Regions from separate parts of the Homo sapiens genome. Here regions 1, 2, 3, 4 and 6 are each linked to region 5. Evidence: promoter capture Hi-C in 16 types of primary human blood cells and fetal thymus (Javierre and others, 2016). All regions are on one chromosome and are shown on one strand. Each heading gives the region's core, a stretch centred on a gene start or on the middle of the fragment in contact. The rest is flanking DNA. Distances are from core to core; before and after follow the strand shown. Region 1 overlaps ARL15 (ARF like GTPase 15). Region 2 overlaps ARL15 (ARF like GTPase 15). Region 3 overlaps ARL15 (ARF like GTPase 15). Region 4 overlaps ARL15 (ARF like GTPase 15). Region 5 holds the start of NDUFS4 (NADH:ubiquinone oxidoreductase subunit S4). Region 6 overlaps ARL15 (ARF like GTPase 15).

What was found. The method cuts DNA at HindIII sites, captures the fragments that hold promoters and counts their contacts. A CHiCAGO score of 5 or more calls a contact.
Region 1: a contact is called between a fragment that was not itself captured here and the fragment with the promoter of NDUFS4 in region 5, in 2 of 17 cell types (M1 macrophages and M2 macrophages). The highest score is 5.7, in M1 macrophages.
Region 2: a contact is called between a fragment that was not itself captured here and the fragment with the promoter of NDUFS4 in region 5, in 1 of 17 cell types (M1 macrophages). The highest score is 5.4, in M1 macrophages.
Region 3: a contact is called between a fragment that was not itself captured here and the fragment with the promoter of NDUFS4 in region 5, in 1 of 17 cell types (M1 macrophages). The highest score is 5.9, in M1 macrophages.
Region 4: a contact is called between a fragment that was not itself captured here and the fragment with the promoter of NDUFS4 in region 5, in 3 of 17 cell types (M2 macrophages, M1 macrophages and M0 macrophages). The highest score is 7.7, in M2 macrophages.
Region 6: a contact is called between a fragment that was not itself captured here and the fragment with the promoter of NDUFS4 in region 5, in 2 of 17 cell types (erythroblasts and endothelial precursors). The highest score is 6.0, in erythroblasts.

Annotation. Positions count from the first base shown.
Region 1 is chr5:53,994,143-53,998,622 of GRCh38, reverse strand. The region is part of intron 4 of ARL15 (ARF like GTPase 15); the gene reads left to right. Among named protein-coding and RNA genes, the nearest start is that of MIR581, 45 kb to the right of the region's middle. The HindIII fragment of the contact is 2,369 bases long and covers 323-2,691 here.
Region 2 is chr5:54,019,314-54,023,715 of GRCh38, reverse strand. All of the region lies in intron 4 of ARL15 (ARF like GTPase 15), which reads left to right. Among named protein-coding and RNA genes, the nearest start is that of MIR581, 70 kb to the right of the region's middle. RefSeq lists an enhancer at 2,954-3,860. The HindIII fragment of the contact is 516 bases long and covers 1,841-2,356 here.
Region 3 is chr5:53,942,633-53,947,354 of GRCh38, reverse strand. The region is part of intron 4 of ARL15 (ARF like GTPase 15); the gene reads left to right. Among named protein-coding and RNA genes, the nearest start is that of MIR581, 6.6 kb to the left of the region's middle. The HindIII fragment of the contact is 1,241 bases long and covers 2,278-3,518 here.
Region 4 is chr5:53,879,546-53,884,658 of GRCh38, reverse strand. ARL15 (ARF like GTPase 15) reads left to right here. Exons shown (of 5, transcript NM_019087.3): 5 at 1-717. Among named protein-coding and RNA genes, the nearest start is that of LINC02105, 62 kb to the right of the region's middle. RefSeq lists an enhancer at 1,258-2,457. The HindIII fragment of the contact is 1,176 bases long and covers 2,048-3,223 here.
Region 5 is chr5:53,557,373-53,562,112 of GRCh38, reverse strand. It overlaps NDUFS4 (NADH:ubiquinone oxidoreductase subunit S4), which reads right to left and starts at 1,474. Exons shown (of 5, transcript NM_002495.4): 1 at 1,353-1,474. The coding sequence starts at 1,450. RefSeq lists an enhancer at 1,073-1,572. The HindIII fragment of the contact is 3,063 bases long and covers 1,326-4,388 here.
Region 6 is chr5:53,911,875-53,916,532 of GRCh38, reverse strand. All of the region lies in intron 4 of ARL15 (ARF like GTPase 15), which reads left to right. It also overlaps the pseudogene RNU6-272P. Among named protein-coding and RNA genes, the nearest start is that of MIR581, 37 kb to the left of the region's middle. The HindIII fragment of the contact is 1,285 bases long and covers 1,015-2,299 here.

The sequences.
Region 1 (4,480 bases), core at 258-2,757, 440 kb before region 5:
TTCCACTTTTATTCTTTTGCATCTCTAACCTTCCCTTTATGTTTCTGCCAGAGTTGTCCTCCTTACAGAAGTCCCTTTCTGTGCAGGGCTGTGCCTTATTCATCTTTATATAACCCAAGTGCTGAACCGCAGTGCCTTGTATACAGTAGCCACTTAAAGGTATGCTAAATTTGAGCGGAGCTAAGAAGGAAGGAAAGAGATGTGAGGGGTGACACATTGAAAGGAGGATTAGAAAGATAAAAGGGGAGAAACTAAAGGGCTGAGGCCAGCCAGTCTGTCTGTAAACATTCCATTAGTCCTGGTGTTAGATTGGATAAAAGCTTTTTTTTTTTTTTTTTTCCTGATGTCCCTGGACACTTCTCCTTTGGAAAAGAACGATACATTATTCAAGAGATGGGAAAAGCGAGAGAAATAGGGCTCAGTCCCCCTCACAAAAATCTGGTTCATAGAACCCAGAATTTTGGAGCTAGAAAATGCCTGAGTAGAGCCCAGCTCTCATTCTGCAGGCAAGGAAACTGAGGCATGAGGAGGTTAAGTGGCTTAGCAGCTAGCTAATGGGAAAATCAGCAGTCAAACATGAGTCTCTTTCTTCCTCTCCCAGCACATCCATCAGTAAATCACATTTTCTCTTTTCTTGGTGGTGCAGGCCAGTGTTTAAGGTGAGGGATTATGATTACTAAGAGACTAGGCATTTTAAAGACCCTTTGCTAATCACAAATTTTTGCAAAGTTTACATCAGGCTCTTTTTAAAGGACTCAGCATGGTGGGAAATAGATTAGTGGTTTTACATTTCTTTTTTTTAAGTGGAGATTTCCAAAGCGTCCCTCTTTTTATTTTCTTTTTAAAATAAAATTGTACTTAGCATAATTAGAGAAACAGATTAAAGTGGAATTGTTCTGGCTAAATTGGAGGTGAGGACCATAAATTCTGCTTGCTGCCCCCTTCCCCATTCACCTCCTTCATCCTGCTCCTGGATGCCCACTGAAGAATCTGAAAAGTTTCTTAGAGAACACTTTTTATCCAGTTAATCAAATGACCTCCAAGGTCCCTTTCATTCTCTCATGCTATGGTGCTGAGATGATGTAGTCTGTTGCCATTTGGATCATTATTGAAAATTATCAGGTGATGAGGATTTAGGGAGAGTGAAACAAGAAGTGGTGTGGGAAGGCCTGCTATTCATCAGGAAATAAAAGGTACCCTTAATTTGGTTTTTAAGAAATAGTCAGGAAAAGAGATTGATAGGGCAGCAGAGAGACTGTCTACTGCTTGGAGATTTTGAATGCTGTGGCTAGAGTGATAAACAAAGACAACTCTTAGCAGTGGGCACATATCAAGAAATGAAGAACGACGAGCCCAGAGTTGAGGAGCTCAGATTAGGGAACTCTTCTGAGCTCAGGACATAAAGAAGAAGACAGATTATTTGGAGAAAAAAGTTTGAAAGGTTTTTGTGAACTGGATTTATAATGTAAAGGACAGAACTTTGTTGAGTTGTTTTCCAAGGTTCAGCAAACGAATTGCATTTCAGCATAAATTTGTCAAATGGTAGATGAGAAATGTATTCTTCACCCTATTGAGGTAGTAATGTTGGAAAGAGATCTTGCTGTACGATACAGGAGAAGGAAGGTTTATTAAACTGCACAGAATGTCTGCAAGTCATCCCACATCTCTGAACTCTTTCTTCCCATCTGTAAAAATAGGAAGATTATAATTTTAGATATGTTGAGCCTGTGTCCATCCCAGTGCTCCTGCTCCCTTCTGCCTTCAGGCGTAAGGTACAGGTGTAAGGTGTTAGCCTACCATTATTCTCTTTTTATCTAGGGTCTCTTTGGATCAGTAGTCTCTAACTAGAGACAATACCATTCCTACCTAGGGGACTTTCACCTAACCAGCCTCAGAAACCTATTTTTAGGTAGCAAAAGAAAAACATTTGTCATATAGACCTAGATGTTAGCTGCTTGTCACAAGCTGAAGGGGTGTTCTCTTTTTTTTTTTTTTTTTTTTTTTATGAGACAGTCTCACTCTGTCACCCAGGCTGGAGTGCAGTGGTGCGATCTCAGCGCACTGCAACCTCCGCCTCCCGGGTTCAAGCAATTCTCGTGCTTCAGCCTCCCAAGTAGCTGGGATTACAGATGTGCACCACCGTGCCCAGCTAATTTTTGTATTTTTAGTGGAGACGGAGTTTTGCCATGCTGGCAAAGCTGGTCTTGAACTCCAGACCTCAGATGATCTACCCGCCTCAGTCTCCCAAAGTGTTGGGATTACAGGTGTGAGCCACTGCACCCAGCCTGAAGGGGTGTTCTAATGTTGAGTATGATCACACATGCATCAGCTCTGTTCTGGTACTCGCATTTCGTCAACCAGAGGCTCCCCTCATAAATGTCAGATTAGTCCCAGGAGACACTAGTCTGCAATCTGATTTCCCTTGCCATTGTCCCCAGCTAGGCGGCAGAGCTGAGTTTAACTAAAAGTTTAAGAAAACTGGGTTTTTTGCTCACCCATCTAGCTGAACATTCTCCTGAACATCTGCCTGAACATCCTCCTCTGAAGAAGCCAATGAGAATTATTGATAATGTATGAACCCCCAGGAGACAAACCTTTTACAAATAAACTGAAAGACAAGGAAGTAAAGTTATATACAGTTATTAAGGAACACTCAACCACCCCTGCTTTTTAAAACCACATAATGAAGCTTTAGCACATTTCACCCTTATTCTGTTTTTGTTTCTGTTTTAAGCTAGAGACTCTTTGGGTCAGTGGTTTCCAACTGGAGAAAGTACTTTTTTGCCTAGGGGACTTTGGGGAACGTATGGGAATATTCTGATTATCACTATAACTGGGGTCACTGCTAGCATTTTGTGGGCAGGGGCCAGGAATGCCAGGACAAGGCCAACCCCCGAAAAGGGAGAATTATCATATCTTAAATGCCAGGAGCATCCTCATTGAAACACTGAGCATTTTAATGAAAATGTACTCTTCCTTTGCCAAATTTTCTTACTGATAAACTATGATAAACTACTCTTGAAGATGAGTAATCTATAGCTATTTTGCTTATTTGGACCTTAGTAGTGTAACTGTTTTCTGACATTGGACACTCAATAAGTGTCTGCCAAAATACTGAGAATTATGAGTAGTGAGGCATCAAATATTTAAAACATATTTCTGTTTTATACATAAGCAGTATAGTCATTTTTAAAATCATTTATTGCACACCCCTAATGTAGACAAATGTTTATAAAATATTATTTGAATTAAATGCAACTGCACACTCACATCATTTAAAAAAATCCCCAATTGCTTTTTTTTTTTTTTTTTTTTTTTTGTGACGGAGTCTCGCTCTGTCTCCCAGGTGTGCAGTGGCACAATCTCGGCTCGGAGCAACCTCCACTTCCCGGGTTCAAGCAATTCTCTGCCTCAGCCTCCTGAGTAGCTGGGATTACAGTCACCCACCACCATGCCCAGCTAATTTTTGTATTTTTAGTAGAGATGGGGTTTCACCATCTTGGCCAGGCTGGTCTTGAATTCCTGACCTCGTGATCTGCCTGCCTCGGCCTCCCAAAGTGCTGGGATTACAGGCATGAGCCACCGCGCCCAGCCTCCCAGTTACTTTTAAAGAATGTCTTGGCACCCATTAAGAAAAGTAGATGTTTAGACCAGGTACGGTGGCTTATGCCTGTAATTCCAGTACTTTGGGAGACTGAGGTGGGAGGATTGCTTGAAGACAGGAGTTTGAGACCAGCCTCAGCAACATAGTGAGACCCCTGTCCATATAAAAAGAAAGAAAAATAAGTGTTGATTTGAGGTTTGTGTGTTTTCATTTAAATGGCTCTAATATTAATATTAATGGCATAGGACTTTCAAAATAATTTAAAAAAAATTTTAAAACAAGGCAGCTGGTATATGGCCTACATTTAGATGTGAGTTGCAGTTTTTAAATGCATCTTCACTGTTGGTGGTCTCAGCAAAGTCAGTTCAGACATGGCAGGAGTTAGGGATTGGGAGGAAGAAAATACAATTTCATTTTCCTCATGTTAAATGTACATTATCAAGGATCCAGTTTAAATGTGTCTAAGTTAATTGGAGCCCCTAGGAGCCACTTTGCTAAGCAGCTAATTCAGCCTCTCTTCCCCAGAGAGGATAATTGTTGTTAAAAAACAAAAAAGTAAAATGTGTTGTTTTCTCATGTAATTATGTAACTGACATCTTTATATAATAATACATTTGGGTGGTCTGTCCCTGAAACACTCGGTTTGTTAGGAAACATTACAGTTTCCACAAGTAATCACTTACTCCTAAATATGATGAAAGAATTTGGTAGTATTACATTGCATCATTGCATTAGTCAGAAGCTAAACTTTCTAAATGAGTTTGGCACTGGAGAAGGCTTCTAGGTTTTTTGCTATATTTTTCTTAAATGTCATTATATGAGCTAAAATATTCTTCAGGTGGAATACTATATGACGGAATGTTTAAAAGTAACAAA
Region 2 (4,402 bases), core at 849-3,348, 460 kb before region 5:
AATAACTTCATCTTTTGCTTTGGGAGGCGCAGAGGATTGAGAGAAGGAAGGGAGGAGGAAGGTCAGAGAGGCCTAAGGCTTCTTCTTCAGTTAAGCACATCAAAGCGCCATATTTTGGTGTATCAGTTTCTGAGCCCCAACGGTATAATGTGTACATATAGTTCCATGTCTTTTTTTTTTTTCACATGTGTAGATTTGGGTAATCACCACCATGATCAAGATAAAGTCGTACCCCTTTAGAGTCAATCCTGTATTTCCCATCTTCGAAAGTCTAGAGCTTAAGTCTGCCATTTCATTTTTTGCTTTTTCGACTTAACCGTCTCTTTACCTTTCACTGTTTTGTTTTTCCTGCCTTCCTGAGGGTTATTTGAACTTTGTTTATAATTGCATTTCCATATATCTGTAATATTTTTAAATGTGTCTGTTTAGATTTTTAGTGTCGTTTTAGGTATTACACTGTACATCCATAATCTTTAACAGCCTATTTGTGTCAACATTTTACTAATTCAAGTCCAATGTAAAAATTATTATCTCTCTCTACATCCCTTTACCCTCCTCATTTATAATATAATTGTCTTAAATATTTTTTATTTTTTCAGTCTAGTTTCTTTCGGTTGTTCAGATTGGGTAATTCCTGTTTTTCAGTCTGCAGGTTCACTGACCTGACTTCTCCATCCTGCTGTCGAGCCTATCCATTGAGTTTTTAATTTCATTATTACATTTTTCAGTTCAACGATTTCTACTTATTCTTCTTTATATCTCCTCTTTGAGAACATTGAGAACCACATCAGACAGTGTTGTAATTTTTTCTTCCACCATCAAACATGATATCTCTCAAGAGGAGAAGGGCATAGGGGTGAAGGGAACTTTCCCTCCATCCTTTGAAGGTTCAATAATTTGAGTCTCTGGAATAAAGTTGACAATATACAGATTAACAGGAGAAAAGGCACACACGTTTATTACATGCATATAGACGGGAGCCCCACACAATATGAGACTCAAAAAAGGGCCTGATGGTGGAAGCTTAAATAGCATTTTGAGCTACAGAAAGAAATAAGGGGCTGGGATTTCTGGTGGGAGGTGGTAACAGGTTATAGAGGTTTGAGGGGAGAAAAATGTGTGATGAGCAGAGGCTGTCTTGTTATACGGATAAAGTCTCTCAGCTAGCAATCTTCAGAATAGGTGGTTTTGACCTTTAGTCTCCTTTCCTGTGAGCTAATCTTCTCTGTTTGATAAGATTATAGAGAGGGGGGCTCAAAGCAATTGCATTTCTTCTGGAGGAACTTCCCTTAGTCAGATAAGGGAACTTCAGAGAAAGCACCTTCCTGCACTTTGGGAGGGAAAGAGGGGCAAGAGATGAGAGACAGGGGCAGCAGGGGACTGGAGGAGGGTGAGGAGAAGGTCAGAGAAACCTTGATTCAAAGCACTCAGCATGCCAAAGCACCATACTTTGGGACATTGTTTCCTGAGCCCCAATAATACTTACGCGTATTTTTGCTCTTTTCAATTTTCCTTATTCCCAGTGTTCCAGTATTTCTTCTTTTTATCATTTCTCTTCCATTTTGATAACTTTCTGTAGCCATTTCTTTAGGGTAGGTCTGCCAGTGACAAATTCTCTGAGTTTCCCTTCGTCTGAGTATGTCTCAATTGCCCCTTCATTTCTGAAGGATATTTTCACTGAGAATCAGATTCTGTCTTGACAGATCTTTTCTTTCAGCACTTGAAAATGTTGCATCATTTCCTTCTGGCTTCCGTGGTTTCTGGGGAGGAATCTGCTGTCATTTTAATTTTTATTCTTCTTTAGGTGAGGTGTCCCTTTCTGCCCTGCTGCTTTGAAGCTTTTTCTTTGTCTTTATTTTTCAGAAATTTCATTATGTTGTATCTTGGCATGGATTTCCATGGGTTTTTCAAATGTTTGAGGTTCTCTAAACTTCAATCTGTAAACTTCTTCAATCATTATGTCTTTTTGCCAAATTTGGGATATTTTCAGCCATTGTTTCTTAGAAGAAGTTTTCAGCCACACCCTCTTTCTTTTTTCCCTCTGAAACTTCAGTGACACAAAGGAAATCTTCGATTATGGTCCCACAGGTTCCTGAGGCTCTGTTCATTGTTTTTAGACTTTTTCTCTTTGTTGTTCAGATTGAGTAATTTCTGTTGTTCTGTTAAAGAAATTCAGGTACGCTGATTCTTTTGTTTTCGCTCTTCTATTATTGAGTCCATCACTGAGCTTTTGTATTGTTCAGTTATTGTATTGTTTAGTTCTAAAGTTTATATTTGATCCTTTACATCTTCTACTTACTGATGTTTTATATTTTTTCTTTTGTTTTATGCTTCTTTATTATTGCTCATTAAAGCTTTTTTGTTTTTGTTTATGTTTTTTGAAATGGAGTTTCACTCTTGTTGCCCAGGCTGGAGTGCAATGGCATGATCTCAGCTCACTGCAATCTCCGCCTCCCGGGTTCAAGCGGTTCTCCTGCCTCAGCCTCCCAAGTACCTGGGATTACAGGCATGTGCCACCACACCCAGCTAATTTTGTATTTTTAGTAGAGACAGGGTTTCTCCATGTTGGTCAGGCTGGTCTCGAACTCCAGACCTTAGGTTATCTGCCCACCTCGGCCTTCCAAAGTGCTGGGATTACAGGCGTGAGCCACTGTGCCTGGCCCTAAACCATTTTTATGATGGCTGATTTTAAATCCTTGTCAGAAAATTCTGATATCTGTGTCTTGGTGTTAGTGTCTCTTGACTGTCTTTTCTTTTTTTTGAGACGGAGTTTCACTCTGTCACCCAGGCTGGAGTGCAATGGTGCTATCTCGGCTCACTGCAACCTCTGCCTCCTGGATTCAAGCGATTCTCCTGCCTCAGCCTCTTGAGTAGCTGGGACTACAGGTGCCAGCCACCACAGCCAGCTAATTTTTTTTTCTTTTAATTTTTATTAGAGACCAGGTTTCACCATGTTGGCCAGGCTGGTCTTGAACTCCTGACCTCCCGGCCACCTGAGCCTCCCAAAGTGCTGGGATTACAGGAGTGAGCCACGAAGCCCTGCTGACTGTCTTTTCTTATTCAAGTTGAGGTGCTTCTGGTTCTTGGTATGACAAGTCATTTTTCATCAAATTTTAGACACTTTGGCTATTATTTCATGAAATTTTGGATGGATCTTTTTGAGACCTTCTGTCTAGTAGATGTCGTCTGATACTGCTCTACCTCTTTACTTGTTCAATGGGGTTGGATGTCTGGGTTACCCACTAAGTCTTTGTTGGCATCTGGTGGGTAGGCATACCTCATTATTGCTTGGCAGGGGCAGGAGTTCAGGCTCCTTACCAGCCTTCCCATGATACCCCCACTCTGGGAGAGGTGGGGATTCTTACTGCTCTGAGTACAGTCTCTACTGACACTGCAGGGGGGTGGCCTTGGTACTGCAAGGTGGTGGTGAAAGTCCTAACTAGTAGGCCTCCGCTGACACTGCTCCTGTAAGGAGGGGAAAGGACACATCATTCCCCCAGTGCCAGTCCAGGTTCCTGGAACGTACACAGTCTCCATTGACAGTGTGAGAGGGGGAGGGTCACCACTGATTTTTAAAATCTCATTTTAATATTTCAGATATTTCCAATTATAAGTAACTTTAATACTTCATATGTTTACTTTTTTGGTTATATTTCTTTTAGATCTACAGATATATTTAGTTTTTTCATACTAGTTTTAACAAAGCTCAGAGCTTACAATTTTGTCTGGTGTTGTAGCGTCACATTTGAGAACTGCTAATTTGCTTTTCAGATGTGAGAAGAAGAGAATAATTGCAAAGTGTGCTGTAGATGAAAGAGTTTAATGCTTTTGTAGATATTTTGTGAAAAGCAGTGAAAGTATAGGTCTGGTTTTTTAAAAAATGGAAATAGATGGTGCTTACATTCCTACTTGATTCTTCAATTTATAACAACCCAATTATAAATATTACTTTTTGTTCCAGATTTTTTACAGAATCAAGTGTATGTTTGTATAAGGCTACATTGGCATGAGCATTAGAATGTCATAATATTCACATTTCCTTTTCAAATTTAGGATGTAGTTTATTACATTTCTGGAATTATGCATATGCAGAAGATCTAAAGTTGAAATTTGAAAATTTGTAAATACATTCAGAGATTGAGATAATTCAGTGACTTCATGGCCCCAACATACTTAACTGTCGTTCAATATGATATTAATTGAAGGCTTTTAAGAAATCCTTCCAACAAATAATAGATTTCTAGGTATAGCCCTCTGTAGTTTTACCGAACACTACTTTAAGTAGATATGAAGATTCTCAGATCATTTGTTAAGATAAAGCTTCCGAAATAATAATGTAGACCCTCTTAAAAATAAAAACTACCAGAGAATTAATTGCTTTAGCCTTATCTCAAAGCAAATG
Region 3 (4,722 bases), core at 1,649-4,148, 380 kb before region 5:
TTTATCTCTTTCCAGCTAATGGAGAAAGGAGAAACCTGTATGCTTTTACCATGGCATTATTAATCCACAGACAGGGAAGGGAACCTCACCTGGGAATTTTCTGCCTTTAATTCTCCTTCTCTCCCAGCCCTCAACACACACACACACACACACACACACACACACACACACACACACACACACACACCCTTATTTATTTTTCTCTTTGGCTAGACCTTTGTTTACTGTTTAAGATACAGTAAACTCTGATACAGACTAGCGAACCTCATGTTAGCACCAACTAAGATTTAACACAACTGGCAATTGGCTATCTCCTTCCCTTCATCCCAGCCCTTGTCCTTGTTTTATTAGCTCTACAACAATGAGATCCCACATACATGATTGAATTTGTTAGACTCCTACATACAGCTTTATAATAGAGTTTGGCTGTAATTAATTAGCTTTGCTTGATTATGACTCATTTCCCTTTTCTTCTCCTTTCCTCCCAGGCATAAAAAGCCAAAATGGTGAGTTCTGATTTGCTTTTCTGTGTCTGAGGAGATTCCTGTGATGGCAGGAAGAGCTTTTTACTATGGATGGATTTTTCCATCTCCTCCCTGGGCTGCCAAAATGCTAGCTTAGATCCATTTTCCCCAAATTGGGGGCTGTTAATGATAGTTTTCAGGATTTTGGCCACCTAACTTTCCCACCTCCAATGCAATCCCTTTTTACCTAGGAATCTTCTATTCATGGGCACCGCTTATACAGAATATGGTATGATGTTCTCTTTAACTTGGTTGGTCTCTGGTAACATTTTTGACTTTTTTTTCTTTTAACAGCGATTTTAAGTTTATTCCATTAGGGGAAAGATTCTATAATCTGGCTTTATTATGTCTTTTTTTTTTTTTTTTTTTTTTTTTCCTCTTGAGACCGAGTCTTGCTCTGTCGCCCAGACTGGAGTGCAGTGGTGTGATCTCAGCTCACTGCAACCTCCGCCTTCCAAGTACAAGCAGTTCTCCTGCCTCAGCCTCCCGGGGAGCTGGGATTACACTTGCATGCCACTACGCCTGGGTTTTGTATTTTTAGTACAGATGGGGCTTCGCCATGTTGGCCAGGCTGGTCTCAAACTCTTGACTTCAGGTGATCCACCTGCCTTGGCCTCCCAAAGTGCTAGAATTATAGGTGTGAGCGATGGTGCGCAGCCTATTATGTCATTTTAGCCCAAAAGTTCTGTGCTAGGCACTTCAGGTTTAAGACTTTTAATCTTTACAGGCCTGCTCAATAAACCATAGTGATATGATCCCTCATTCATACATGAGGAAACTGAAATTTGAAAGAGTGAGGGTTCCCAATGCCACACAGCTAAAGGGTGGAATATCAGGGTCAAATGCAGATGGATCTGTCTCCAAAGCCTGTGGTGTCTCCACTTCAGTGCTGCTGACTTGTGCTGCTGTCTGATGCTGGGTACCTCAGCAACCCTTCTAGGCTTTAGTTACTTCGTCTACAAAATAAGGGGCCTGGCCTGCAAGGTCCTTCCCAGCTCTAAACTTCTATGTTTATGGTTAGTGGAATGAGAACACTACATTTTACTTTAACATAAATTTACTTGACTTTACATTTAATAGCAATGGCCATATATTTCAAGTTTAAATATATATTTACATATTTCTGCAGTCGGGAATTTTAGATTATATAAACCTTTTTGTTTTTGCAACTCATTTTTCAGGTGCTTTGGAATTTCACTGCTGTTCTTTTTAATGTATGGTGTTTGCAATTGTAAAGTTTGGAATTTTCATTCAAATGTGAATTTTTTCTCTTATTCTGTCTTGGTTTAACACTTCTCAGTGTGCTGAGAATGCCTGAGTTGGAGGTAGTTTGAGAAAGTGGAGCAAAGCAAAACTAAATAACTCGTTTGGAGGTTAAACCTTCACCCTTGACCTAAACAAACTGAGTTAACGAACCAAAGATTACATTATGGAGACTACAAACCCCTGCTTCTACAAGTTTATAATCTAAAAGATAAACTGTCTGATGTCAATGTACGTCTAAACTACTCAGTAAACATACCCAGTAAACGACAAACATGTCCGTGTTCACAGTTGCAACGTAATAGTGATGTAGAAGCTAGGAGTACAGTGGAAATAGCGATTGTCTGTTAGATCAGGAAGTACAGAACATGAAAGGCCACTGTGGACAGAATGGATCATCGTAGGAATAAGGTCACATGAGGCAGGACTTTGAAGATGGTTGAGTAGAGACGAGGAAGCTGACTCACATCTCTCTCAGCCACTCCAAGCTTACTCCTTAGTCAAGTGCTGTTTAGCCCTCTGCCTACAAGAATGCAGCCTCCCTGATCTGTTGCCCAGGAATCAGTATTTGTTTTTCACTGCCTTCTTTCTAAATGTCAATTCCATCCCAAAGATGGGATCCTTAGAAGTATTGAACCTATATTGGCCTGTCTCTGCATAGTGTAACTTAATTGGGCTACTTCTAACCATGCTTTTCTCTATTTTGTTTATTTGGTATTCTTTGAGGACATTATATGTGCCAGACACTTTGCTAGGCCTTAGGTATATAGTGACGAGCAAAAGAAATAGTAATTAAGCTGATACATTTGTAGTGAATCAGAAAATTAGCAATTCTAGAAAAGCAGACAAATAATTAGCAAAGAAATCAAGGAAAAGGATAAGGTAGTAGGATAGAAAATAGCTGAGAGTGCAGTCGGGAGCTACTCAGTAGGTGATCAGGTTTGTTGTTTGTTTTTTGTTTGTTTGTTTGTTTTTTGAGGCAGGGTCTCACTCTGCCACCCAGGCTGGAGTGCAGTGGCATGATCACAGCTTTCTGCAGCCTCAACCTCCCAGACTCAGGTGATCCTCCCACCTCAGCCTCCCGCATGCCACCACACTCAGCAAATTTTTTGTATTTTTTGTAGAGATGAAGTTTCACCGTGTTGCCCAGGATGGTCTCAAACTCCTGGGCTCAAACGATCCTCCTGCCTCGGCCTCCCAAAGTGCTGGGATTACAGGTGCGAACAACTGTGCCCGGCCAGGTCATTTCTTTATTTCATCCCTTTTCTCATATATTCCAAGTCTCTTGCTCAAGCTGTTTAACCACTCCCTTGTGGACTTTTTCTAAAGCCCCATATCTAGGCTGTTTGTCTACAGAATTGATGATACTTTTAAACTCCTTTTAGTTAAAACCCAAGTATTTGTTCAAACCCTGTTGTGTTTTTGGCTCTGTGCCAGACATGGTGGTGTTTACCATGTAGTTCTAAGGCCCTGTAAGATCCCTAGAAGGATCTTAATTCATTTTCTATCCTTCACTTGCTGTGATTTTTATCTCCCATGCCCATGTAACATGGGGTCCAGAGTTGAGATGAGTGTCTTTCTTGTTCCTTACTGCCACTTCCAGACCATTTATCTTGCAATTAAAAATTCCATTTCCTTTTAATTTTAAGCCATTGCACTATTCTACCTACTACTGTTCTGGACACATTTTGTACAGCTTCCTGTTGATTCTGACCATCATTCATAGAAGCTTTTGAGCGCTGGTTTGACACCTCTTCTTCCCATGGCTGTCTGTCATTCTTGGAAACTCCAGCTCTCAGGTAGAAAATTTATCCAGCTTTGGTTCTCTTAGTTCCTTGAGCACTTTCCTTCCAACAATCTTTCTTTCACTCTATCTCAGCCACCCACTCAGGCCATTCTCAACCAGACTTGGCCATTATAAGTAGCTGTACCACCTGTGAAACCTCATCTTTAAGCACTGTCTTTGACAATTCCTGTCTTTTCAACTCACTTACTCCATACCTGCATCAGAAAAACTGAACATGACAGAAGGAAAAACCAGCAATACTACTCCTGACTGGCTTATTAAATTGATGACCATAAGGCTCAAGGGGCCCCAAATTTTCTAGTAATCTTAGCTGGTCACTTCTCTGGGAAGGACTCATTCATAGTTTCTCCTCCTCTCTCAAACCTTCAGTATCCCTTCCACCTTCTCAGTGGATGACCTCACTCCCTGTTTCCCTGAGAAAATAAAAATCATCAAAACAAAAAATCTACTAACCTTTTACACACACTTTCTTACCATATCCTTTTTCCTTTCACCTACTGAAGTTACATTTTCTTTCTGGCATCATCACTTTGTTCTTCTCTCTAGTGAATTATTACAATCAGGATACAGAGTGTTAAAATTATATACATAGCCCGTTAAAATCTTTTAAAAATCCCTTCTTATCTTCCCCAACACCCCCGCCCACTCCCCACTGACCAGCCCTCCTCCAGCAAGTTTCTTTCTTGGCTCTGCAAGCACACACTTATCGTGAAGCTCCTAGAGAGAACATTTATTGTCTCTTTGTTGCCTCCATTTCCTCCCCTCCCATTTTCCCTCTTGAAGTCATGCCAATCAGTTCTCTCATGACTCAACTACTACGCAATCCACAGCGGATCCATCCCTCCTTCCTGAAGCACTTTCATCACTGGTGGCTGCTTATCACACCCTCACATGTCCTGACTTCTAAATAGTGGAATGCGGGCCTCATTTTGTTTTTAATCTCTTCTCCACCTACACTCATATCCTAGGTCATCTCACCTTTCCCATGGTTGTTTTGTTTTGTTTTGTTTTGTTTGAGATGGAGTCTCGCTCTGTCACCCAGGCTGGAGTGCAGTGGCGCGATCTCGGCTCACTGCAACCTCCACCTCCTGGGTTCAAGCGATTCTCCTGACTCAGCCTCCTGAGTAG
Region 4 (5,113 bases), core at 1,386-3,885, 320 kb before region 5:
AGTGATGGGCCTCTCCTCAAACCCACGACTGTCTGCAGCGTCTCAGCCGTCAGAATGAAAACATTATCAATCAGTACCCAACAACAGCTGTTTTTGACAAGTTTCTGTCTGACGCCTAATGCTTTACAACTGTCAATAAGGCTCCCTCTTTGTCTAGCAGGTCGGAGCTCGCTGTCTTGCTGCTTCCGCGCGGCATCCTGTCCTTGTAACCCTAGAATTTGCCATGTTTTGGAAATCCACGTGGGGGCGGGGTGGGGCCTGAACGGGTGGGGATGGGTGGGTGGGTGGTGGGGTGGGTGGGATGGCTGGGGGTGGGAGTGTAAGTCCCTTTTCCTACTTTCATGTAAAGTGCCACAGGTGTCTTGGTTTGCATATTCAAATATTATATAGGAAAAACAGTCTGTTATGTATTTCTTCACCTAGCTTCTTGTAATATTTATGGACGTTTCCAGTTTTTGTACCTTCTTAGCTAAAGCAGTTGCCTTTTTGTAATGGCAATTAATTTATATGATAAAACTTTGTATCCACTGTAGTTGACAGTATTGGTTGCTAATTAACTGCCATATTGCCCTGTCTTTCTATTAAAAAAATACTGTACCTGTACTTAGAGGCTAACAGATTCATGTGGACATTTACCAGGCAAGACCAACTTGTATTGTCCATGATTTCTACGATTTCCACTATCTTCAAATGAAAAATAAACGCTGAGTAGAACTGGTGTTTTCAGACTAACTCCTTTCAACTTTAGCATTTGGGAGTCCCAGATTTCTGTTTACGTTTGTGTCGCCTGTTTGTCTCCAAAATAAGTTCTGCTGCTCTTGGGTCAAAACAAATGATTAATTCGCATTTCCTTTGAAGCCATTGTGAAAACCTTAAAAGAAAAAAAAAAAAAAAAAAAGCAAGTATCTTTTCCAGTTGGTTTGTCTTCAGCAGCAATTTACTCTTATTGAAGCTGTTCCTTCGGAGTGTGTGAACAGACTCAAGATATTATTATAAAGCATCATCCTTCAATCAAAGGATTATTTTATAATATGTGCTGTGAAATTAACTTGAGTGGCAAAGTTTGGTGCAATGAGTTATTTCATTCAATGGTGATTGATGCTGTTAAGTAATATTTTTAAGTGACTCGAGGAAATACTGTGCATTTACAGATCCATCCTTAAGGATGCAGGTCTAAAAAAAGAGTAAGAAAGAAAAATCAAGTGGTAGATAGATAGAAGAAGAGAGAAAAAGAAAAAAAATACGTAATTGAAGATGAAAAATTTAAATCCCAGCTTTTGCTTGGTCCCAAATGCAACGTTATCATCACTTAGTATTTGACTACACAGAGAGCTTGCAACGTTTCACTTCTAAGCTGGGAATCTAACCTTCATTCCTAGGTTTATTTCTAGTGTAGGCAATTAGCAGTTATCAACTTCCTAAGCATCTCAGTCCTATCCAAGTAAATGTGAACAGAACTGTAAGATTTTGAAGCAAATGGGGTTTTCTTCATGTCCATATTGCATATTCAGACTTGAATGGAAATCTAATATTCGTGCCTGGCTTCATCCTCTTTATAACTTTAGAGTGCATTTTCATTAACCTCCTGACCTAATGGCGCAAACAGAAATGAAAAGGTATGTAGGGTGGTGGGGCTGGAAGTGGGAGTTGCCCTTTGGGATCCCTCATTTTCAATGCATTTGGAAGGGAGGGTCTGTGTTTGTTATGCAGAAACTTTAGAATGTAGAGTCCCTGTCTTGTTCCCCAGCCTGGGTCCTGGAGATCTGAAGTTCATGCTGTAAAATGCATTACCACATCATGTTGGGAATTCCTGGCTCCCAAGGGCTCACAGCATTTGGTCACCAGTGAATCAGCATGTTTAAATTATGTGCATCTCAGGGTTAAATGTTTTTCAACTCAGATGCATGAAGTGACTGATGAGCCCAAGGTTTGGCACCCTACCCCACACCCCCTTGTACTAATTTAGGAACATGAAAAGGATCCCTTAGAAGCCTCAGATGGGATGTCAGTTTCTCCTCCCCTTTCCTATTCTCTTTGAATTAAAGCTTTAAATGACAAACTTTTCTTCCACCCACTGTCTCATCAGATCTGGAAATTCTGACTTCCCTTCCTGGGGTTTCATCTGTTTGTAACAACTTCTCCATAATGTGACTTACTGTGAAACCAAGCAAAGAAGTTAAAAGTCACAAAGAAGAATCTCTCCAATACGCCCTGTCTAGCATCTTCCTTTCCTTATGAAACAAAGAGAAATTCAAAGCCCATGATTTCTCTATCAGATTTTTCTCTATAATCTCATCTCACATGCCATCTCTGCTCTGCAAAGCATATTGTATTCACTGGCTCCTGGTTTAGAAAGGCCAACTACAGGGTTCTTAGGCTTAGCCTGCCCCTTCCCTTTCTTGCTGTACTTCTCAAGTCCTGACTGCACACAGGAATTTCCACAGGGCATTCTAGATGAATAATCACTTTCTACAAGGGAATAGTGTGGGCCTGGTGGCTTTCAAAGAAACTTCACTTACCATATATGCCTTGTAAGTCACTTGTACCCTGTTGGGAGAATAAAGAAAGTGGTTTCTAGATGTAATGCCTTGCTAGGCTCAGCCAGGTTTATAATCCAGTCCAACTCCTTATCCCCACTGCTCCAGCTAGACATAGACCAACGTGGGTACAGCCATTCCACCACACTTTTAAAAAACGATCTTCTGCTAACTACTAGATAATGGTGAATTCCCTTTTTCCTTCCTTCTTTTTCAAAAATCTCTTCCTTTTATCTGATGATCTCAAAGAATCCTACATAAATGTTTCAGCCTAGTTTTCTTCTAGCAGCAACATTTCAACCATGGAGGTGAGTTGGCAATGTAGTCCCCAGAGATGCTAACCTGGCTCAGGCCCAAGGGAACAAATCAAAATGAGGCTTGAATAAGCACCAGGTTCCCCAGACTCTCTCATTTTCCTGTTTCTTCATGGAATATAGGGAGGCGGAGGGAGCTGGTTATTTCAAAAAGCCTAAGATCACTTCCATCACAGGCAAACCCCTCCTGAAAGTGTGAAATCCAGCCTACAATGGACTTTCACCGACAAGTGATTCATTGAGACAAAGGCTAGAGTTCCAGCATCAAACAGATGTCAGACAAAGCACCAAACGCCTATAAATGATTGCTTTGCAAGCAAGGGAATGACTGGAAGACCTGGCCTAATGATGTACCCCATGTCTGGACAAGCTTACAGAAGATGGTGGTGGAGGGAGCTGGTTTTTTTTTTTTTTTGAGACGGAGTCTCGCTCTGTCGCCCAGGCTGGAGTGCAGTGGCGGGATCTCGGCTCACTGCAAGCTCCGCCTCCCGGGTTCACGCCATTCTCCTGCCTCAGCCTCCCAAGTAGCTGGGACTACAGGCGCCCGCCACTACGCCCGGCTAATTTTTTGTATTTTTAGTAGAGACGGGGTTTCACCGTTTTAGCCGGGATGGTCTCGATCTCCTGACCTCGTGATCCGCCCGCCTCGGCCTCCCAAAGTGCTGGGATTACAGGCGTGAGCCACCGCGCCCGGCCGGGAGCTGGTTTTAAACAGAGTCTGTGAAGAAAGCTGTTTCTGGAGAGAGAAGTAAGACCACAATTCTTACCTGAGAGGTTCATGTTGAAATGAATGATTTCTGGCCAGTTTGCGTATAATCTGTGTAAAGGTAAATCAGAAAAATGTGTGTCCAGGGCACCTTGAAGGCCAGAGTGATGTGGTATGATATTAAATCATTAGACATATAAATATTAAAAATGAGAAGATTTTGTTAGAATGGAAACGGCTCACCAAAAGGCAGAGACAAGAATGCAAACAGTAAGTCTAGCTGTCATTCTCTGTAATCTGGAGCAAGTCAGGTTTGTCTCTGGACCTTCTCCAGTTGTTTTACAACTTTCTAGACATGCAGTGTATCAACCCAACACTTTTATTAAGCAGCTTTGACAGGGTTTTTGAGATGACAGCTAGTCGAGATTCAACTTAGCATTGTACAGTTTTATTTCACAATTGGAACTTTCGGTTTTAATACTTTTAGGACTTTATTCATTAATGCAACACTTTTTGTTGAACACCTACTATGTACCAGGGATTGATATAGCTGTAAATATGACATACTTAGTCTCTGTCTTTGTAGTACTTTAATTCCTGTAACACTTGTTAAATTGGATTATTTTTATGACCGTAGAGAATTAGAGGGGGTGAGGGATTTTATTATATTAAAATTGCAATTTCAGTCTCTAGATTTTAAAAAATTTGTTCTTGGTCCTAATTTCTGTTTTTTAGCCCTCCTAATTTAGAATTGTTTTTGGGTGCTGTTTAGCTTCTGCGACCATTAATAAAACTAAAAATCTAACCATAGTGAAGTTTTTGCCTTTTCTTAAGCATCTTTGTAAATAGAACCTTGTAAAGCTAGCACCTTTTATTCTGCTATTTTGCTGCTACAACAATGAAGCATGTGTCTAGCACACAAAGGTGCTTCCAAAGTGCAAAATCAAACTCTTGTCAATTACCTACTGTTCTTTTCATCCTCTCTGTATTCAAAGGGCTTTGCCTCCTCTAGAACAGCCTTGTCTCATCCTGCCTGTTGATCAAACAAATGACTTATATTTGAAATGTTGAATGTTTAATCTCCAAGAGGAAAATTCTTATTCAGCAGCAGTCTCTTGTGTTTTATTCCACCTAACAGTTAAAGCGGCTGCATGTCTGCCACGATTCACATGCCCAGACAGAGGCAGTAACCTGTAAGCATATAACCTGCTGGGTTTTTTTGTTGTTACTGTTTGACCTAGGAAGGTAGCAGTGAGTTTTAACTGGGTTTCAAGAGGCTGCTTTGATTTTCTGTCATTGAGGACTGGGAACTTGGAAAGACCCCTTTACGCCCATGATTTATTCCAAAATGGTACTTGGGCAAAGTCGTTCCTTTAGCAGGAGTTAACACATTTTGGATTTAGAACATTTTTACAAAATCTATACCAACACTGTTCGCATTTCCTTGAACACCTAAAGGCCATATTGTTCCTGCTCACCAGTGTTAAGCCCCATGCTAGATGTGACCCTTAGAGAGCCATGACACATCCCTTATGCTGTTTACTGGCCCAGATGTT
Region 5 (4,740 bases), core at 225-2,724:
AGAACTGCTTGAACCCGGGAGGCGGAGGTTGCAGTGAACCAAGATCACGCCATTGCACTACAGCCTGGGCGTCAGAGTGAGAATGTATCTCAAAAAAAAAAAGAGAAAGAAAAAGGAAAAATACTTTCCATATATGGAACACTTAATTACAAACATCATTTGCCTTTCCCCAATCTTAGCACCCTTACTTTTGAGTGACTCTATTCTATGTATTTAGTAATCGTTTAACTAATGCTTTCAAGCCTTTTCATAAGCCACGGACCCTACGGGACACTCTCTTCTTTCCCACCCAACACCCACTATATTTAAACCTTAATAAAACTCATCCTTAAAAATTCTTCCGAATTAACTCATCCTAATTCTCTGCATTCCATTTATATTTAACACTAAATCAATTAGCATTCTACTAGACCTTCCTTTCAACTTTTAACCACTTGCATCCACCTCCTACCCCCTTCAAATCTCTCCATCCAGTCTTTCCAATCTTTGTTCTAATATGTGTGTGTATGTACGTATAGCATTAGTACTATAATTTAAAAAACTCCAGGAAATTCTGAAAAATAGAAAATGGAAGGTTAATACAGCCAAAAAAAAAAAAATCATCACAAAAATGCTTCAAGGAAAAACAGTAACAACTCAATCAACTGACAACTGAATCTGACAATACTTTGGAAAAGTACTACTTTAGGTTCTCAAGGACGCAAAGAGCCCTCAACAACTCAATTCAATCCCTGAATTATTGTGAGGCTTTAACAAAATCCCTAGAAAACCTCCAGGCATTACCACCAGCCTTTTAAAAATTACCTTCCAATATTACTAGCAGTGATATTTTTACTAACACTGAATTCCAAACAAGTTTTCCTCCCAAGCAGACTGATGAATAAACAATCTTCCTATGCAGAAACCAAATTAAAACCACTTAAAACCATGGAAGGGATACAGTGATTTAACCCTTCTGTAAGGACTGGAGTGGTGGGCAAACAGGTGACAAATGGAAGGGATGCAGAAAGTGGAAACAGAAATCAGTGAGACTCCTCCCCTTCTCTGAGGGCTAAGGTTCAGCTTGCAGCTCCGGAGGCAAAACCTCCACGGACCCTCTCCCTCAGCGACAAGCCGAATACGAAAGCTTCCAGAAAACCACAGGTCCTCCTCCCCGGCCTCGCACTCACGCCCTCACTCGCCTGGCCAACGCCCATTGATAGCAGACAGTCCCTAGTCCGCCCGACTTCTCCCGAGAAAAGGGTCAACAGAGGACGCCTTCCCCGAGGCCTCCTCCGGAACTCAGCCAGCAGAGACTCCGCAAAAATGGAGGGACCCAAGAAGCTTGAAGAAAAGTGTGAAAATTCTATTACCTGGTCGGAACCCTGGAAACGGAAAGGGCAGCTACAGCCACTGCCCTTCTCCGCCACAACGTCTGCCTCAGTACCACTGACATTGACACCGCCGCCATCTTGCTGCAGGCAAACGCCAGGATGAAAGGACGGATCACCGCAAGGGACTAACTTCCTTCGTTCTCAAGCCAGTGCAATCGCAATGTTGCGAAATTCTTTGGGATTTTATTTTCTTTTTAATACTGGGGCTTAAAAAAAGAGGGGAAACGCTTAGTTTAAATAAGTAAGAAGAAAAATGTGCGGGAAGAAATGCAGAAGTGCATTAACTGTAAATATTACCACCATAAAGTGTAATCTTTACTGCTTGTTAGGACTGGTGTTTTACAATGATAACGAAAAGACCAAAATATACTTGCATATTTAAACACCTGCAACTCGTAATTTATTGAAGAAATTAGGATATTTGGGGCTGAACCCACTGGAAAAGCTGGAGAGCTCTTTGGGTCCTTGAGAACCTGCAGTAGTACTTTTCCAAAGTATTGCCAGATTCACTTTGCAAGCCCTCAGGACAGGGCTGTATTCAGTTTGATATTCTGTAGTAGTAATGTTCGTATTTTCCAAACGAAAAATCTGGATACGTGATCTGGCAAAGGATTATTTTTTGACATGTAGATTTATATGAAGAATCAATAGAACATAATATTTGATGTCACTGTTTCCCCAGTAAATCCTGAATGTGTGTGTGTTCATAATCCATAGACATGAAGAATGATATTAATGCTCCATGCATATAAAACAAAAATTATCTTCCAATACAAGTGTTGGAAACATGTTTGTATTGTGGACTTCCGACCTTAAAGAATAATGACTAACTGAATTATATAAAATAAAAAGCAGGTTAGTTTTGGGTTTTGTTTTTTAAGAAATTTGTTTAAAGAGTTAGTACTTTCCTGCTTTTAAAATTAAGCACATGAAAACATAACCTTCATTAAATAAATAGGAACAATAGGAGGATGGGGAATGACATAGTTTGGCATTATGGACCGTTAAAGGAAAACCCAGTACATAAGGGAAAGGGAGAAAGAAAGAGAAAAAGTCATACTCAGGGAAAGAAATGCACAAGATGAAGGAAGGCAAGGGAGAGATGCCTCAGAGAAAATTTTCTTTCAAACTTTTCATTTTGAAATAGTTATAGATTCACATGAAGTTGCAAAGATAGTACAGATGTCTTGTGTACCTGTTTCCCCCAGTGATTACATCTCGTATAACTCTAGTACAGTATCAAAGCCAGGAAACTGGCATTGATATAAAGTATTTGTGTAGTCCTATGTCATTCTACTACATATTTTGTGTAACCACCACCATGATCAAGATACAGAACTATTCCACCCTCACAAAGATCTCCCTAGTGCTAACCTTTTTGGTAACACCTGCCCTCCTAACCCTAGTGATCTCTGTTTCTGTTTTTATAATTTTGACATTTTGAGATGTTATATGAATGGACTCATGCAGTACATGACCTTCTAAGATTGGCTTCTTTCACTTGGCATAATGCACTTGAGACCCATCCAAGTTGTTGTGTTTATCAATAGTTCATTCCTTTTTTATTGCTGAGTAATATTCCATGACATGGATGTACCACAATTTGTTTAACCATTCACCTATTGCAGAACATTTTGATTGTTTCCCATTTGGGGCCATTACAAATAAAACTGCTGCAAACAATTGAATACAGGTTTTTATGTGGACAAAAATCTTCATTTCTCTGAGATAAATGCCCAGGAGTGCAATTGCCAGGTCATGTGATACATGTATGTGTCATTTTTTAAAGAAATTAAAAACTGTTTTCCAGAGTAACTGTAACATTTTACATTTCCTCCAGCAATGTATGAGAGATCCAGTTTCTCCATATCCTCACCAGCATTTTCTATTATTGCTATTTTTGTTTTAGCTGAGCTAAAGTAAATAATAAATGTGCAGTAATACCTCATCACAGTTTTACATTTATTCCCCTGGTGGCTAATAATGTTGAATATCTTTTCATGTTTTTATCTGCCATCTGTATATTCCATTCAGTTAAATGTCCTTATGTCTTTTGCCCATTTTCTAATTAGCATTATTTGGTTTTTTACCTGTACATTTTGAGAGTTCTTCATATATTAGATGTGTCTTTTGTCAGATGCATGATTCACAAATATTTTCTTCAATCTGTAGTTTGTATTTTCATTCTCTTGACAAGATCTGCCACAGAACAAATATTTTTAATTTTGATGAAGTCCAGTTTATTCATTTTTTAAATTTATGGATTGTGCTTTTGCTGTCATGTCTGAGAACTATTCTCTAATCCTGTATCCTAAAGATTTTATCTTGTTTTCTTTCAAAGGTTGTTTTAGTTTTGCCTTTTACATTTAAGTCTATGTAATTTTTGTGAGTTAAGTTTTCCATTAATAGGTGTGAGGTTTAGGTTCAGGTTTTTGCTTGTGGCTATCCAATTGCTCTAGCACTACTTATTGAAAAGTTTATCCTTCTTCCATGGAGTCCCTTTTGCACCTTTGTCAAAATATCAGTTGGCCATACTTGTGTGTGGCTATTTCTGGGTTCTCTATTTCAGAGAGAAATTTTAAGCCCAAGGGTGGCTTTGGTGTCTGGGTGAATTTTAATAAAGATTTTCTATGTGAAGGAATAATGGGATGTGTCCCAGTGTTCATAAGAGCAACTTCCTATAGCCCTGTTACTGGCCCTACCAACCAAAGCTCAACCTCTCCACCTAACACCTATTCTAGTCCCCAACTTCCATGGATCTGAATTCCCCAGGAAAGCCCCCGGTCTCTAGTCTCTTTGTCTTTTGTACAGCCCATAATCCAACATCAGCATTGCCAGAACCCTAGTGGAATCTTTGATTCCCTTCACTTTCTGCTGGATTCCCTCAGCTGCCCATTCCTGAGGTCCTTTCTGACCTTATATACAGGATATAGGTGTTAGAATGGAACAGAAATAACTTGGTATGTTCATTTATTTATACTATTTCACCTATACCACAGGCTGTACCATTAAGCTTAATAGAATGTCTAGGTCCAAGTGCCATTTTGTTATTTCAATGTGCTGCCCCAGAAGTTGTTAACTACTAGAGTCCACTTCTTTGCCTCTTCTCTAGTCATCCTCCTTGCCCTTCAGATCACAGCTGTGAGTCACATCCTTCAGAGTCACTCCCCATGGTAGAAACTACGTCTTACAGGCATTTTTCACCTCCGCCATCCTTGCTGACAGAGCCTGACTCCTATGATAGAGACTAAAGTTGCTGTATATTGGCTTTCCCATTAGCTCCTGCAGCTAGCACATGAACATGTCCAAAGCCAACAGGATCTGAAATCCCTTTTGAGAAAAAAGACTTCTGAAAAAAAAAAAAAAA
Region 6 (4,658 bases), core at 408-2,907, 350 kb before region 5:
TTTCTTTCTTTCCCCCCAACTTTTATTTTAGGTTTAGGGGGTTACATGTGCAGGTTGTTTTCCCTGCAGCAGGTAAATTGTGTCACTGGGGTTTGGTGTACAAATCATTTTGTCACCCAGGTAGTAAATATCATACCCAATTGGTACTTCAAATCTCTCCCTCCTCCCACCCTCCATCCTCAAGTAAGCCCTGGTGTCTATCGTGGAACCTAATTTTCTATTTCTCTTTTTTTTTTTTTAATATTACATTTTGACTCTTCACCTGGACACAGCCACATTGAGATTAAGGTATTCTCTGAATTAAATCTGTTCTGGGTATTTTGTGAGTACGTTTAGAATTTCAGGTCAGGTGCAGTGCCTCATGCCTGTAATCTCAGCACTTTGGAAGGCTGAGAGAGAAGGATCGCTTGAGCCCAGGAGTTCAAGACAGTCTCTCTACAAAATATAAAAATAAATTAAAAAGCCAGGTGCAATAGTGTGTGCCTGCAGTCCCAGTTACTTGGGAGGCTGAGATGAGAGGATCTCCTGAGCCCAGAAGGTCAAGGCTGCAGTGAGCCATGACCATGCCACTGCACTTCAACCTGAGTGAAAGAGCAAGTTTTAGAATTTCTATCTTGGAATAGAAGCCAAATTGGGAACCAAGAGGCGAATCACTTAAAGTCACCTGACAAATCAAAAACCAACCTTAAATCAAGTCGTTTCTCTTTCTTACTTGCTGCAATGATATTTAAAATATATGTTGCCCTGGTTGAGACTGTTTGTCTTGGATCAACATCATTCTAAAGAAAAAGGGTAAATTTGACAGGGATGCTTATTTTACATTTCTTCCTTTCGCTTTTTCAAGTTTTTACAACTAAAATAAATGAATAGTGTAGCAGCTGGAATAGAAATCTCTTACTGATTGGGCCATAAAAGTGGGAGCTTTCAGAAACAGCCTATTCTCCACAAAATAAAATAACCTAGACATTGTCCAAACTGTTCAATGCTAGACTTGAGAACTATAGTTTTAAAGCTTCTTTTGCTATGGATTTATTATCATTTATAAATATTATGAATTTTCAAATGAGTTAGCAACTATCAAGACAGGTAAATCTCACACCCTCTTCTGTGTTCCCACAGCCATTTTTATACATACCTTGTTATAATTATTATCTTTTTCACCCAGTAGCCTACGGGTTCTTTGAGGGCAGTATCAGGTCTTGGTTATCTTTCTCTCTCACAGCACAGTGCCTTGTGTGTGATAAAGCCCCCAACAAACTGAATTAATAAAAACTATAGATCATCCTGCCCAGACTGTTTTAGGAAGTATTTGTGTATCTCCTCCCCCTAGTAGTTTGGTTTGGTCAGCTCTGTGCCCAGCATCTCTGCTCAGAAGGCAAGGACAAGGGAGGGAAGGAGGGACTGAAATTTCTTTGGCTGACTGACCAGATGCAGTGGCTCATGCCTGTAATCCCAGCACTTTGGGAGGCCAAGGCGGGTTGATCACTTGAGGTCAGGAGTTTGAGACTAGCCTGGCCAACATGGTGAAGCCCCGTCTCTACTAAAAATACAAAAATTAGCTGGGCGTGCTGGCACATGCCTGTAATTCCAGCTACTTGGGAGGCTGAGGCAGGAGAATTGCTTGAACCAGAGAGGTGGAGGTTGCAGTGAGCTGAGATCACGCCATTGCACTCCAGCCTGGGCGAAGAAGCGAGACTCCATCAAAGGAAAGAAAGAAAAGAAAAGAAAGGAAAGAAAAAGAAAAAGAAGATAAAAAGAAAGAGAAAGAAAAGAAGAAAAGATTCCTTTGTCTATTCTCATTAGCAGCTCATTCAGTTCCATTCAGTGAACACTCTGAGCATCTGCCTCACTTCAGACCTTGCTCCAGATGCGGAATTCGCCAAGATGAGTGAGAGGGTCTACTTTGGGCAAAGCTCTCTGAGCCTTGAGGTCTGTCTTCATCCCAAAGAATTTGCACTCTAGCAGGGGAGAGGGGAAATGAATGGACGAATATTTATGTATTACTTGGGTTGAGGGAGCAGTCAATTCTTCAGGGAAGGGAGAGCAAGGAAAACAAAGAAGGGAAGTGACAGGGGAAGGGAAGGAGGTTCCAGAATGCATCAGGTGGATAAGTAGCAGTCTTGAAGTGTGAAAATTAATACATGGTATATTTGGGGAGACAGCAAGCACTTTAAGGCATAGTTTCAAGTAGGGTTGGGGCTTAAGTTGTTGAAGTGAGAGGGATTTTTTTTTTCCTTAAGGCTTTCTACACGATTTAGATTGTAAATCTTTGGAGGATAGACTGCTATACCACCAAGCTTTCCTCAGAGAAGGAGATCAAAAACATTGGGAGATTTAAATGTAATAAACTAATACAGAACTATAAAGTGTGTGTGTGTGTGAGAGTGTGTGTGTGGGCCTGTGCACTTGCTAATTTCACTTCCCTTTCCTTGTCCTGTCCACTCTCTGGTATATATAAATAATGAACTGATTAAAACACTCACAGAAGGGAAAAGGAGATAAGGAGGAAGAAGAAAAGTTTATGTTCATTCTAAACCCTCAGGTGCTGTGATTTCAGGAGGGAAGAAGCTGTTTATAAGTAAATAAATATACACACACATATAATAATTGTACTTCACATATATATAATAATTGTACTTCAAGATAGCGTGAATACTTGCAATGATACAGGTTAAATACCATTAGAGTGATAAAACCAAGGGACTACAGGATCTCAGAGAAGGAAAACCTCACCTTCAGCTATTGTGATTAGAGATTGAGAAGTAGCATTTGAATTGGGTCTTAAGCACAGATAGAAATTTAGTTGAGGTCATAGTAGTAGTAGAATAGTGCCAGGTACTATTCTGAACACTTTAATATTCTAATTCAATTGAGCCTCACAATGAACCTTGTGATATAGGTATTATTGTTCTTGTCATTATTATTATACCCATTTTCCAAATTAGAAAACTATGGCCTAGAGCAGTCAAGGGACTTACCCAAAGCCAAAGAGTTAGTAAGTAATAAAAAGGGGATTTGAACAACGGTAGTTTCGGCTTCAGTCCAGTTAACTAGCTAAACTACCACTCACAAGAAACAGGACAGAGGGCCTTCTAGGAGAAAGAAATGTCTTGGGCAAAGAGTTCATATTTGGAAAGGGCAAGGTGAGTTCAAGGAGTGACTAAACTCAGTTAAGGGGATAGGATCTGTGAGTATTGAGAGATGACAACCCTGCTTTGTTTTGTTTTGTTGACACAGAATATCACTCTGTTGCCCATGGGGAAATGCAGTGGTGCAGCCTTGGCTCACTGCAACCCTGCCCTCTTGGGCTCAAGCAATCCTCCCACCTCAGCCTCCCAAGTAGCTGAGACTCCGGATGCATGCCACCATGCCTGGCTAATTTTTAAAAAAATTTTTTGTAGAGATGGGGTCTCACTCTGTTGCCCAGTCTGGTCTTGAAGTCCGGCCTCAAGTGACCTTCCTGCGTCAGCCTCCGAAAGTGCTGGGATTACAGGCGTGAGCCAGCATGCCTGGCCTGACCACCCTGTTTTGAACTGTAGACTTCCCATGCATCTTCCTGCTTCATCTTCCTAGTACTTTATGCCATTGTCTAACATGCTACATACTATTTTAGTGGTTTATCACATTTATTTAGTCTTTCTTCATTAGAATGTAAGTAGCTAGAAGTTTGGGATTATTCAGCTTTGTTCACCGCTCTATCTTTAGTCTCTAGAAGAGTATCTGGCATGTAGTAGGTTCCTGTTGAGTATCTGTTGAATGAATGAATGGATAAGTTGAATTCAGATCACTGAGGGTTCCACAATACTCTAGCAATCTTTAGTCTCTTGTGGACCTCACATGATATGTGGGAAGCCACCAATCAACCTTGATCATATCAATGTGTCATGTGTCTGTGCATTCAGTGCTGCCCTTTGGAGGAGGGGGTGCTGCAAGATTATGGTGGAGAAATATAAAAACATTGAAAGGATTCTGTGGTTTGAAATGCTTTGTTCTACTTGCAATACTCTCAAGGAGTAGCTGCTGATGTGGACTGAGTTTTAAGGGACTTCAGGAGGCATTGCAACAAATCTCATCCCAACCCTATTATAAGTACCTAAAGTTACATACTGTTGGATTTCATTTCGTGTTATTAATCACTGATTTTTCATTGAAAACCGTTTTTTTGTTGTTAGTACTAGCTCAGCATGCAGCATACTAAGTAACAAGCAGCATATTTCCACTGTACACAGGCTCTTGGGCCAGACCACCACTATTGTGTCTTGCCCCCATAGCTTGGACATATTCTTTAACCTGTCTAAGCTTCGGTGTCCTAGCTTCGAAAAATGGAATAATAATAGTACTTTCCTCAATGGACTGACGTGAGGATTAGTGAGTTAATATATATATTTTTAATCTTAAAAGAGTGTGTGGTGCTCACTTTGACAACACATATACTAAAATTGGAATGATACAGAGATTAGCGTGGCTCCTGTGGAAGGATGACATGCAAATTCATAAAGTATTCCATTAAAAAAAAAAAGTCTGACACATGGTAAGGTATATAGAGACTTCGGATTGCTGGAAGGAATTCTTGGAAAGGAAGGTGAAAAAGAAATAAAGGCAGATTTTATTTATCTCACAGTTTGGCCAGAATCCTATGGCTAAAGACACCTTAACTT